2 separate regions of the Homo sapiens genome follow, and region 2 is linked to region 1. Evidence: promoter capture Hi-C in human tissues and cell types (Jung and others, 2019). All regions are on one chromosome and are shown on one strand. The core of a region is centred on a gene start or on the middle of the fragment in contact, and the rest is flanking DNA. Distances in the headings are between cores, read along the strand shown. Region 1 holds the start of TSPAN13 (tetraspanin 13). Region 2 overlaps HDAC9 (histone deacetylase 9).

The links. Contacts are between HindIII fragments. The study calls those that stand out against the background at their distance.
Region 2: a contact is called between a fragment that was not itself captured here and the fragment with the promoter of TSPAN13 in region 1, in 1 of the 25 tissues and cell types used here (dorsolateral prefrontal cortex).

The regions. Positions count from the first base shown.
Region 1 is chr7:16,749,719-16,756,347 of GRCh38, forward strand. TSPAN13 (tetraspanin 13) reads left to right here and starts at 4,037. Exons shown (of 6, transcript NM_014399.4): 1 at 4,037-4,312. The coding sequence starts at 4,250. RefSeq lists a silencer at 6,626-6,629. The HindIII fragment of the contact is 15,712 bases long and covers 1-6,279 here.
Region 2 is chr7:18,519,016-18,525,644 of GRCh38, forward strand. The region is part of intron 2 of HDAC9 (histone deacetylase 9); the gene reads left to right. Among named protein-coding and RNA genes, the nearest start is that of HDAC9, 27 kb to the left of the region's middle. RefSeq lists a silencer at 3,152-3,231. The HindIII fragment of the contact is 5,725 bases long and covers 804-6,528 here.

The DNA of each region.
Region 1 (6,629 bases), core at 2,787-5,286:
TATGCTCTTCCAAAATGTGGCCTTGCAAACTTGAAGAAAAATAGAGCCTGAAGTAAATAATATTTACTCCCAGAAAATGGCACATCCCTTATTCTGTCAGGCTGCTGGTGTGGTTGCCTAAGTCCATCTAAACTATAGTTAAGCTGAATTAGGGTTTGTTATAGGTTTAATAGATTCAGTTCATTATTGGCTTCAAATATTCTTGAAGGCATGATCAAGACTTTCCTCTTACAGAAAGGAGGTCTGCATAGAGATTTCTTCGTGCTTTGCAGCCTAGCCACCAGCAATCTGAGCCTTGGGAGATCTTTGTGCTTTACAGCCTGCTACCTTTTTGTTTGCTGGGGAATAGTCTTTGCTCTCCACTCACATCCTTGGCTTTCTGTATCTTGTGAGATCTCTTGCTATCCTGTGTGGAATCCTATTCCAGCCATTGGAGGGCTCTTTCAGTGTACCATAGAGAGAGTTTTCTTTTCTGCTGCTACGTTAGTCCTGGAGTTAAAGAACCAGATTGCTTTGCTGGAATTTTTCTTATTTTTCCTCACTTTACCCCAGCTTTTAGCCACTATCTTGCATTTGGGGAAGGCTTATACACCTTGAAATAGTTGGAGATGAAGAATATCTATTAGCACTTGACATGGTTTGGCTGTGTCCTCACCCAAATCTCAGCTTGAATTGTATCTTCCAGAATTGCCAGATGTTTTGGGAGGTACCCAGGGTAGGTAATTGAATCATGGGGGCCGGTCTTTCCCATGCTATTCTCGTGATAGTGAATAAGTCTCATGACATCTGATGAGTTTATCAAGGGTTTCTGCTTTTACTTCTTCCTCATTTTTCTCTTGCCACCACTATGTAAGAAGTGCCTTTCGCCTCCCACCATGATTCTGAGGCCTCCCCAGCCATGTGGAAATATAAGTCCAATTAAACCTCTTTTTCTGCCCAGTTTCAGGTACGTCTTTATCAGCAGCATGAAAACGAACTAATGCAGCAATCTTGCCTGACCACGGCCTTTGTAGCTTATATGTCTTGTTTTAAAAGAAAGCCCATGGGTTAGAGCTGGCAAATAGTTGCAGTCATTCTGTAGCTGGGGCTCTGGATTATAAACTGTCACATAGTCCAGGTAGGGGCAGTAGAAGATGGTTAAATAGTCATTTAGTTTCTCCTTATCCCTCTCAAAGGTAGTTTCTCCCTTCCACAGCCAGTCTATAAGAGATGAAAGTGACTATGAGTTTTTTTCCCCCTCTAATAATGTCTCATCACTTCTTGGATTTTAGTTCCTCTAGTGCCTTTAGCCCCTCAGTTCTTCGATAGTTTTTTGTTGTAAGTATGATTTGGTAGCTTATCTAGCTTGTTTTTACTTACTTTGAGACAGGGTCTTGGTCTGCACCCAGGCTGGAGTGCTGTGGCGCCATCATAGCTGACTGCAGCCTTGATCTCCTGGGCTCCAGCAATCCTTCCCCCTCAGGCTCCTGAGTAGCTGGGATAGCTGGGATTACAGGTATGCACCACCACACCCAGCTAATATTTTCAATTTTTAGTAGAGATGGGGTCTCACTATGTTGTCCAGACTGCTTGTTCTTATTAGGGTGGGAACAAATGGTCTTTTGAAAATTTCTATATCCAAATCAGGAGAAATTGCAACATGTCCATTTGTTTTCCTATTTTCAGACATTGTTTTGTTTCCTCTATCAAAAGCCGTATCTCCTATCAGACAACTCTCCTACAACTATAGCTCTTGCCTGGCTTCTGTAACTGTTCCCTTAAATCACCCCCTTAGTCTTAGGGGTAATTAGAACTTCCTGCTCTTACTATCTCTGAGCTGCCTCATCATGCTTTGTTGGTTTCCTTTTCTTTTTGAGACAGAATTTCACTCTGTCACCCAGGCTGGAGAGCAGTGGCGCGATCTTGGCTCACTGCAACCTCCACCTCCTGGGTTCAAGTGATTCTCCTGCCTCAGCCTCCCAAGTAGCTGGGATTACAGGTGCCCGCTACCACGCCTGGCTAATTTTTGTAGTTTTAGTAGAGACGGGGTTTCACCATGTTGGTCAGTCTGGTCTCAAACTCCTGACCTCAGGTGATCCACTACCCTCGGCCTCCCAAAGTGCTGGGATTACAGGTGTGAGCCACCGCACCCAGCCGGTTTCCTTTAACTTTGTCCACACTTTTGAAAATAGTCCCTTTTTGAAATTCTTCTCAGTTATGCTATTTGAACGAGTCATCTCCTTTTTGCTGGGACCCTGACTGATAGGTGGTACTTCTCTGGGAAAACAAAGTGATTCAGCCTATAGGGAGATAGTGAAGATATTATGCAGAAGCCAAAGAGAGAGTTGCAATAGTTGGTTGAGTGATAGTTGAAGTGGTACTAATGTTGGTGACACCCAGGAATGGGAAGAGAATGAATAGATTTCCCTGCCAATGCCTCATCTTTTGTAAACCTCTGGCTATTAAAAAGGAAAGTTGAGCATCATCAAAGCATTGTTTGTGTTTGAGGATCATTTTCCAGGTTAGTTTTTGAAATATTTCTAGCTGTATATAAAAGGTTAATGTGGAATAGAAAGCCTAACAAATTAATGAGGTCTTGTTGGTATGGTGGGGTCAGGGGAGGGAAGGAGAGGCTGGAAGAGGGAGCAGAGAATTCTAAGAAGACGAATTATTTTAATCAGCTGCAATGTTTAATTTAATTTAATACAATTTAGCATTTGCAATTACATAATTTACTCCGTATGAACCTTTAGGTTAGATATAGTATTGTAAACTTGCAAATCTCTTTATAAAACCTTTTTCTTTGGTAGAAACTACTATGAAGTAAATAAACCTTTATTGCCTTCGCTTAGTGCCTGGAACACAGTAGGCCTTTACAAAATGTCAGATCTATGAATACTAGCTGACATTTATTGAGGCCTTCCCCTGTGCCAGCCACTATGCAAAAAGTGCTTGACATACTTCTAAAATCTCAATTTATAGGTGAGGAATTAAGGATACAAGATGCATTTCTATAGTAGAGAAGCAGTAAACTGATAATGAATTAATTGAGGTGAAGTCTGAGTTATTTGAAGATTTTCAGTTATTTTTGTGAAAAAATAAGTTTATTGAAATTCACGACCAGAACACAAAAATAATCTCTCTTGATTTTCTTTTTAAAATTTTTTAAAAAACTTTTGTTGACACGTAGCAGATGTATATATTTACGGGGTACATGAGATGTTTTGATACAGGCATGCAATGTGAAATAAGCACATCACGGAGAATAGGGTATCCATCCTCTGAAACATTTATCCTTTGAGTTACAAACAATCCAATTACATTCTTTAAGTTATTTTAAAATACACAATTAAGTTCTTATTAACGATTGTCACTTTATTGTGCTATCAAATAGTAGGTCTTATTCATTCTTTCTATTTTTTTGGACCTATTAACCATCCCCACCTTCTCCCGCTCTTGATTTTCCTTTGCATGCATGTATTCATAAAGTTTATTAGTATTTTGCAAATCTTTGTAGGATAAGTCTGACCTGTCCAGGTCACAATTATAGGGCACATATCTTATTTTCTGAGAGAAGCAGGGATTTTATTTTATTTTTTATTGTTTCACTTATTTTCTCCCTTTCATTTGCCTCTACTTCGTTCTCTTTTAAATCTTTCACATGTTTTCATTCATTACTTGCTTCCTGCCTTCCTTCCCTCAAACAAGGCCAGGTGCTTAGTTTTGAAATCTCATTCAAAATGGTGCCACGTCATCTGCCAGGGCCAAGAATCCAGAGGTGCTGTCATATTTCTCCTTGCCAGCGTGGATCTCCTCCGAGCCCCGCCCTCCCTCCTCACCTGCTCCTGGGGAAACTACACCAAGGCCGCCGCTCTGGCCTGGGGCTCCCTCCCACACGGCCTTGGCCCTCTCCCCCTCGCCCCGGGACCGCTCCGCCCCTCCCGGATCCCGGTCGGCGGAGCGCATTTATTTGCATATTTCTACCTTTGTTCCCTGCCAGCGGCCAATCAGCGCGCGGGGCGAGACGAAGGGGCTGGGCGGGGCTCGGGCTCCTGCTCCGGCTCAGCTGCGGCGGCCGCAGGTTCCAAAGCGGGTCCGAGCCGCCGCCGCGCGCGCGCCGCGCACTGCAGCCCCAGGCCCCGGCCCCCCACCCACGTCTGCGTTGCTGCCCCGCCTGGGCCAGGCCCCAAAGGCAAGGACAAAGCAGCTGTCAGGGAACCTCCGCCGGAGTCGAATTTACGTGCAGCTGCCGGCAACCACAGGTTCCAAGATGGTTTGCGGGGGCTTCGCGTGTTCCAAGAACTGCCTGTGCGCCCTCAACCTGCTTTACACCGTGAGTATCCCCAGTCCGTTCCTGCTCGCTTGGGGGCTTTGCACCTGCTTGGGAGCTCTTTGGCTTCCCTGCCTGGTCAGCGACTCACTCGTTGCATCCCGCGCCCCCTTCCCGGCTTCCCACGTCTGCGCGCCCCCGGCCTCACCATCCGTCCCCGCCGGGGACCGGGCGCCGGCGCTTGTCGCAGTCTCTTCCTTTCGTTCATTGTGAAGCCGCGGTCTCTCAGGCTCGCTGGCCGCGTCTCTGCCACATTGCTCCACCCCGCCCCCTCACCCACCGCCTTGTTTTTCAAACATTCAACCGGACCTCTCCGCTTTCCCACCCCGTACCCTTCTGCCGCTCGCTCCTGACATCCAGACGCATCTGGGCCAGGCGTGGAGGCGCGAGAGCCGTCAGGGCTTGCGGACAGTTTTGCGGAATGGCGTGGCCTGAAACTGACGAGGCGGCATATGGCTGGTGTGCCTCTGGGTTAGCTCTTGGTACCCTCGGGATTTTAATTGAGGCCACTGAGTAGGTTCACAGGATGTCCGCTGCTTCCGAAGTTTGTTTCGTGCTCACAGTAAAGGGATGTCTTTTTGTTTTTGTTGTTGTCAGTTTTGCTAGTACTTGGTGCTTTTTCTGTGTGTCTTGTCCATGATCAATATCCTAACTCCATTTTAAACCAAGTCCTCCAGGAAATAAGCGAGCCCCCACCCAAGTCGTTTCTTTCCCTGCCAACCAGCTTGGGCCTCTTAGTTTTAACGCTGCAGGCTCTCTTTGTGATTTTTTGAGGCGCAATTCTGGGTGAACAGGAGGATGGGCAGGACAGATCGACATTTATTGAATGCCTATCACGTCCCAGGTTTTACATACACAATGCTCGTTCATCATTCTGACAACCTTCTGAGGGAATGGGGCATTATCTGCATTTTATACATAAGGTAACAGACCAAAAAGGTTTTAGTAAGTTTACATAGCTGGTAGTTGACGAGTCAGGAGTGGAACCTAGGCTGTGGAATCCAGATCTTTCCACAGGCTGTCTCTACCGGGCGGAAGAAACTTCCTCTTCTGTCATCATCCCTCCATAGTAGTCTTGCTCCCTTCTATAAATATACCTGGCGCTTTGCAGCACCCACCCTGAAAACAAACCCAGCACCCCTGCATTAGCAGAGAGCTAGGCCATCTGTGCAAGCTTAGATTACCTCCTTGGAATAGAGAGGCTGCCTTGTGGTCACCAACAGGAGAAGGAGGTTGGGTCATTTTACCTTTACTGTTCCTTTGTATGTGAACATGACTGCAAGCTTTGAAGGCAAGACAGAAACAGGCATTGAGTACGCTTTTATGGCTAGTTAGTAAGAATCTGGTCAACATGGTCATTAATAGTAGACTTGGGAAAAAAATTTTAGAACACCTGGTGATACAGTTCCTTGGAGATACATGTCAAGTTTCAGATCAAAATTCATCTGTATCACCCTGAGGTATGCTTATCACCCTGGCTGTTTATTAAGTAAATGCTGACCAGTTCTCTAGGGTTTTTTTTTTTTTTTTTAAATCAGTGTGAGTGGCCTGCTTGGAACTTTAAATTCCTTATTTTGTGACCTGAGTTCTGTTTTTTTTCTGCCAATGATTTAGTCATCTGTTTGCCAGACACTTAGTCTTACAGTGCCTGCTTACACAGAGTGGAATGTCTACTTTGCATACTTACTTCACTGAAGGGTCTATATCAATGTATAATCTTTTTTAAAAAGGCAAGTTATTTTAAAATGAAGTTCCTTGCTTTCTAGACATCATTTTTAGTTGTATTTAGAGTATATCAGGAAAGTGAGGCGAAAGAAAGGTGATTCTAAAGGGACATATTAAGACTATTTAATATCTATTCTAAATTATTGACCTTCAAAGTGTGTGTTCTATTGATTTTAATAGCTATGCAGTAAAACTTAATGAATTGGAAATTCACGGGACAATAAAAATGGCTAGCCCTTTTAAATCATAGACTTTTTAGACAAAGGGACATTTCTTAAAATGAATTAGTGGCTGCTTGCTTCTTTTACATTGTAAATAGGCTTAAATAACTGCAGCAGTTTAAAGTGGAGGCAAGTGACAGGTAAAAGTTGGATCAAGTCTTAGATAGATGCTGAAAATGTGCCATGGCCATTATTTAGCTTCTATTTCTCCCCTGATCTCTTTCTCAACATTTTAAGATGAAAAAAATGTGAGGCAGTTGGGGATGGGATTGAGCATGAAGACTTGGGAGACATTTCTCTATAAGTCATGAATAGAAACATTCTTTGTAGGTTCTAATCCCACCCTGGTCACTGCCTCTAAAATGTGCTCAACG
Region 2 (6,629 bases), core at 2,416-4,915, 1.8 Mb after region 1:
GTTTTGCAAACATCTGTGGGCTCTAAGTGATTGATAAATACTATGTATAGAATTAACCTAAAGTTTAGTTTGAAGACCCTACTTCATAGATCAATATGAAAATGATGCCAGCAAAAAATATAGTTTAGACATTGTGCCTTGGAAAAATATTTCTATTTATATTAATGAGCTTATGTGATGTCATCACAACTCATTCTAGGAAAGATCTAGGTCAGTGTAATCCTATCTAGAGAAAGTTAAAAAAGAATAATTGTTGACTTGGTATTCTTCGTAGTCAGAAACAAATTAAATGACAAATTATGACACTATTTTTTATTACATGACAGACAAATAAAAAGTTACCATATATTAAATGCTCAAGAGGTTAATATCTATAAAGCAGAAATATAAACTGTAAATCAGTAAGAAATACCAGTAACTCAGTGGATAAATAATCAAAGGCTATGAATAAGACATTTACAAAGGAATAACCAAAAATAGGCAGTAAGTATCCGAGAAGATGATCAATCTTTGTCATGATTAACACATCAATGAGGTGCCATTTTTGTCAACATTATGGGAGTAAAAATAAATGACTAGATAATGCTTAGTGTTGATTGTGGTTTGGAGGAAAGGGGTGTTGTCATGTATTAGTGGAAGAGCACACTGTTCAAATTTTGGAGCAGCATAAATTGGCAGTACTATAAAAATTAAAAATCTACACACCCAACAATCTAGTAATTCCACTTAATTGGTATACAGAAATACTTGCACAAATTCACAATAATTTATGTACCAGGATATTTATCAGCAGTTTTATTTATAATAATGGAAAACTGAGGGCAATCTAACTATAAGTCAATACATAATCCATACTCTGAAATACAAGTCATTAAAGTTATTAAGTAATGTCTGAAGATATTAACATAGAAGGATGAGCTCAATATATTAATGAATGCAAAAAAATGTAGAATGGTATACAGTACATATAGCATAGTAAGCTCAACTAATGGATTCATGGTACTTGTTTCCATTATTTTATTGTTGTAGTAGGAGCAGAAAAGTAGTAAAAGTATTTTAACCCAAAGAAAAAAAATGCTAGCATGAAAATCACAGTTCAATAAAGTGTTTTTATATCAGTATGTTTATTAATAATTAAAAGTATTAATAAGTTTACTTCAGGAATAAGATTAATTTACGTATCTGTGAGAAACTTCGTGATATACATCAAAATATTAAAGTAATCATGCTATATTTTTCTTTTCATTCTGAAGACCACCTCTTGCAGGTAACTTTTTCTATTTTATTATACTGTCCTATTCTCCTTTCTTTACTTAGTTATATATCACAACTATAGAAGAAATAGGTTACCTGTTACTTGCAGAAATGTCACTCACTATTAATATTACTTTGCAACACAGAAAATTTTTCTGAATAATTAGAGGCAACTAAGCAAGCCTAAATGGAGTTGGTTAATTAAGTTATAAAATTCTAAGGGAGTATGATGAACCATGTAGACATATGAGCTTTCTGTTCTGCTTTTTTATCAAATGTTTCTGGCACCTGGGTTTTCTCAACTGCCCTTCTGTTGAATATGATTTTCGAATTGATGTAATGAAGAGTGGTGCTCTCTGGACAAGTAAGCTGTTCATTTGTAGAATAATAATATGTCAACACATATTTTCCAAAATAACAGTCCTACTACCGTAAATGTCTTGGAAACAGTTACCTGACACCCAGAGAGTAAGTACAACTAGCCTAGAGCCTTGGTCTGACACCAAGCAAGAGGGTTTATGAAAGAAGATAGCCCAGAAAGCTGGAGCCCTGCTCTGCTGTGTCGACATGTCTACAGCTCAGAATAAAATTGAGTTTCCTGCTTTAGCCATAGCTGGGTCTTAAAATAACCTGAAGAAATTATAGTTCTGATTACATAGAAAGTGAAGGACTTAGAACATTCTCCTAATAAAGCCATGAGAATGACACAAAGCTTAGTCATCGGCAGTCCTCCTCTAACAGGCGTTTTAGAGAGAAAAATAGAGGTTTGAAATTGGATAATTTGATTTGAAATCTTGCCTAATTATTTTAAGAATGCAGAAAACCTTTCTTTTTTGGCCAAAAAAATAATGATCTGGAATCCAATTAGGAAAGAACAGGCTTTTAAAATGTTTGATATCTCCAGTAATGGAGAAAAATCATGTCTTTAAAATTACATTCTGCTACAAACCTCATTCTTGGATGTCTTGCTTTTTGCATTTTGAATGGACAAATTTAATGTAATTTCCTTTTGGAAACATGGCATTGGAAAAGTTAGATGAGATGTTTAATTTTATGTTGGATCCTATCTACCAGGGTACAGATTTTTAAGAAGAAAAACACTTCTTGTTTCGTTTTATTTCCCAAGGGAGATATCTCACTTAACCAGATGCCTTGCGATTTGTCACAATATAGATCATTTACACAGAATTTGTGTCCAGTCGTCCATCTATTTGATTTGCACACCATGAATAAAATAAGCAAAATGGATAAAGCTTCTAATACTCCCAATTAAAAAATTGCTATCTATTTTTTCACCATTAATATGCTATCCCAAATGGCATTTATCACCATACTGTCTCACCATATTTATTCGTATGCTGTTGTTTTCTCAAGATACGTTCAATTCAGATTATGTTTGACTTGCAGCCATATCAATAATATGACTAATAATAAACAACAGTCTAGGATTTCCAGTTTTTAGAAAAACGATAATAAATTTGAAGTGAACCTATATTCAGATTTACATTTTACTTAGTATTGTTTTTAAAAAAACATTCAATTAATATTCTGAAATGATTCCATTTATTTTTACTACAAAGTTAGCTGGACCTTTACAGCATTTTAGAGTTTTACACGAGGTTTAGATTTGACTAAGCCTTAGTACGATGTCTGGAAACAGGAGGTTGAATGAACATTTGTTGAAAGGAAAAATCAGTTATTGAAATATTGTGTCTTCTGTTATCATTCTTGAGAAATGGTGGTGAGACAACTTAGTAGAAGTGACTAACAACTACATATATACAGAAGACAGGATGTAAGTCTCCAAGGTAATCAAGACCAACAGGAGGATGTTAGACCAAAATTAACACCGCGAGAAATGTGTTATGCATATATTACAGCCCACGTGTGAAAATCTGTTCATTTATAGAGAGATTGCTTCTCTGTGAATGGCTAAGTTGGCTCCACTAAGTACAAAAAAGCACTTAGGGCCATTCAGAACTAACAGCCACACACTCTGAAAGACTAAACCAAAAGATACCTGATTAGTAAGTGCTCTTTAGATGTGGGGATAGACGTTTTAACAAAGAAAGGACAGGGATGGAGAGGACTAAAGCTCCGTGCTGGGAAACTCTTAAGGAGCCAGGGCCTCCCAACAATATGCTAAGAGTGCACCCCTAGCTGTCTGGCCACATTTTCATTTCTTGTCTCAATCCTGAGGATTAATCATGAATTCCAGTCCAGTTTCTTTCCAAGCATATAACTGGACATGACAGAGTATCTTAGCTTCTACATCATAAAGCTCAATTGTTAATACTGAAAAAAAAAAAGCAGGGTGGTTTTTTTAAAAAAAACAAAAAACAAAAAACAAAAAAAAAAACATCTAATGAGCAAACAAACCAAACATGCCTCTCTTATTTCTTGTCCTGTCTATTTTTTATTTAAGCGCTGTAGGTGAGGTAATTGAAATGGAGCCCATGATATGTCTTAAGAAGGATTAATAACATTCAGTGACCATTAAGTGCTATGAATTTTCAATGTATAATGTTTTATTTGTTTCTCCCAGGAATCCTCTTTGTAGGTGGTAAAAATCATTTAACAAGTGAGGAAACTGAGCTCAAAGAGGCTGAATAACTTTAATTAACAAGCATTTATGGATGTCCACTGTATTTAGGCCAAAGTAAATGATGTAGTGTCTTGCTTCCAAGAGCACATTGTCTAGAGTGGAGGAAAAAGGCAAAGTAAACATGAGAGAATAGGTGCTAAAACTAGACTTTGCAATATTGAGAAGGCCTGGGAAGCCTTTCAAAGGAAATAAATGAAGGGGAGTTCAGTGTTTTTGAAGATGGTTGGAGGACATGATCTATAATGTTGCCATGGCTGGAGATGACACTGCAAACCAGGCAGGAGACAGATGATTAAGGACCTTTAATTCCATGCAAAGCTAGTGACTTTGAACTTCTAAAGGATTTTAAGAAGAGCTGCATGATCAGAAATACTTCTTGGAAAAGTAACTTTAGCTGCTGTATAAAGGATGGGACACTCCTTAAAATGGGTTGTGTAATTATCACATAACCTCTAACTATTAACTAGAAGTGCCCAGCAAGGAATAGGGAGAGAATAGTAAGAGTGAACTGGAAGGACCAGAAAGAGATAAATTGGGAATTCATGCAAGAGGTAAAGGGACAAATTCAGAGTCTGAGATTTCCACATTCATAACTGGGTAGATGTGTTGCCATTATTCATTCATTAATTATTTTTTGAGTGTCTCTTATGTGCCAGACATTATCTTCGTGCCAAAATAGATGACAGAGCAAAACAACCTTATATATTTGCCCTTGTGGAATGTGAAATCTACACTGTTTGCACATGTATATGTGTGTGTGTGTTGGGAGACTGATAATAAATTATAAATGTACATAATTATGTAATTGGTTAGAAATGGTGCTGTTAGATGAACAAAAGGTAGGGCAGAGAAAGGTGGTTCATGAGTTGGGAGAGAAAGGTGCACCATCACATAGAGTAGTTAGAGTAGGTAATTTTTATGAAGGTAAGATTTTCAGCAAAGGATTGGAGAAGGATTGTTAAGGTGAGGAATTACACAAGAGACAGATGAGGAGATTTAAATGTAGACCCCGCCCTCCCCCACCTCCCCCTCCCCGCTCCGCCCTGCTTCCCATTGCTTGTCTTGCTATTCACCTGGACTGGCAGAATAAGCGTGGAGCTTGGTAGGTAACATTGATTGACTATCACAAAATGAAGTGTAGAGCAACACTGAGAGTAGGAAAACCTTACACTATGAAAACATAGAGGGGAAAGAAGCACTTCTTCATCTGGCTGGGTTAGCTATTCTCAGGATAGGTACTCAAGTATGGAAGGTATATAGAGATTGGGCCTTGGCATACATTCATATCTACACAGATAGCATCTATTTACCTGTGTAGTGAATGTGAGCATGATAATTCATGTAATTAACTGCCATATTTCTTGTAGGGACTGAAAGTTAACAACTTTGTATATTAATACTCTAAGAGAACTCTAACTATAGTCTCCAACAAGAATTGCAGGGATTTTAAACTCATAATTACTCCTCAGCTGTAAATTTCAGATGTGGGTTATTGCTTTTTCTCATTTAGGGGAGTGAAATTGCTTCAGCCATCGACTTTGTGATGAGGCCTGCAGTCAGCTGTAGTTGAGAGGGGTGCTCACTCTCTGCTATTATTAGTAGTTTGTCCACGTAAAGACAATCATACAACATGTACAAAAGTTGGATTCAGGATAGCAACATATTATGTTTTGTGGCTGCAAGATATTTAAATCTAACACCAATAGCATAACGTTTAAAAACAAAAATTTTATTGAAAATAAAGTTTATGTTTGGGGCAAAGGAAGATTAAGAGGATAGGAATATATATTTTCCCATTCTTAACTCTGTCTCTCTTCTAGGGATTGAGAGATACAGAGAGATTGAGAGAGTGAATTGGAGTGAGTGGATATGAGTTATATAGCACTGCCTAATGGATTATTACCTCCCAAACCCCTGAGTTGAAGAGTAGATGGAGAGCCTGTGTAAAAGATTTTGGGTAGACGATTTTGAAATAAAACTTAGTGACATACACACACACACACACACACACACACACACACACACACATTACAGATAAGTATATATATGGAAAAATATGTATACGCAAGGAAAATACTGCTGTTCTAAATGTAGTATAATGATTTTAATATACTACCCAAGAAATCTTATGAGACTTTAAAATCATTTTAAGATTTAATAATAGTAATGGATTTAATTTTTTTAGTATGCTATTCATTACAAACTAGAAAAATCCTAATAAATCAGTCTGAATCAGTAAAGCCTCATAGATTTCCATGCAATAATGTGTTTCCTCAGTTGCTTTTACAGGAAAATAATTACTAATTATTTGATAAATTTAATTTTGGAGCAAATGTGTTGACAGCTGAAAAAACATGTAATGACTTGGATAGAGACCAGATATAACACTAGAACAAATAATATTGGCGACTTAAAAAAATAGTAACTGATGAAAAAAATCTAATTGCGTTAAATATTTTAAAGTACCTAAAAATACCAAGGATTTTGTATCTTTTGTCCTTTTCTACTTGAAATTTCTTAATCATTTTGGTGATCATACAAGATAAATCTTTAAAATTACTGTGTGAGTATTCTTAAAATAAATATAATTCTTTGGTTAAACTATACTTCTCTAAATTACATGCAGTCTTAATAAAATAATTCCTATGGATGTTAATGTTCATTCTAAACAATTTTGCTCAATCCATATTTTTGTAAACTGCATTGCTTTGCTTTTTTTAAAAGCTACTGTTTATATAGTCCTAGTTCCCAGTTTTTCATATATACTGTA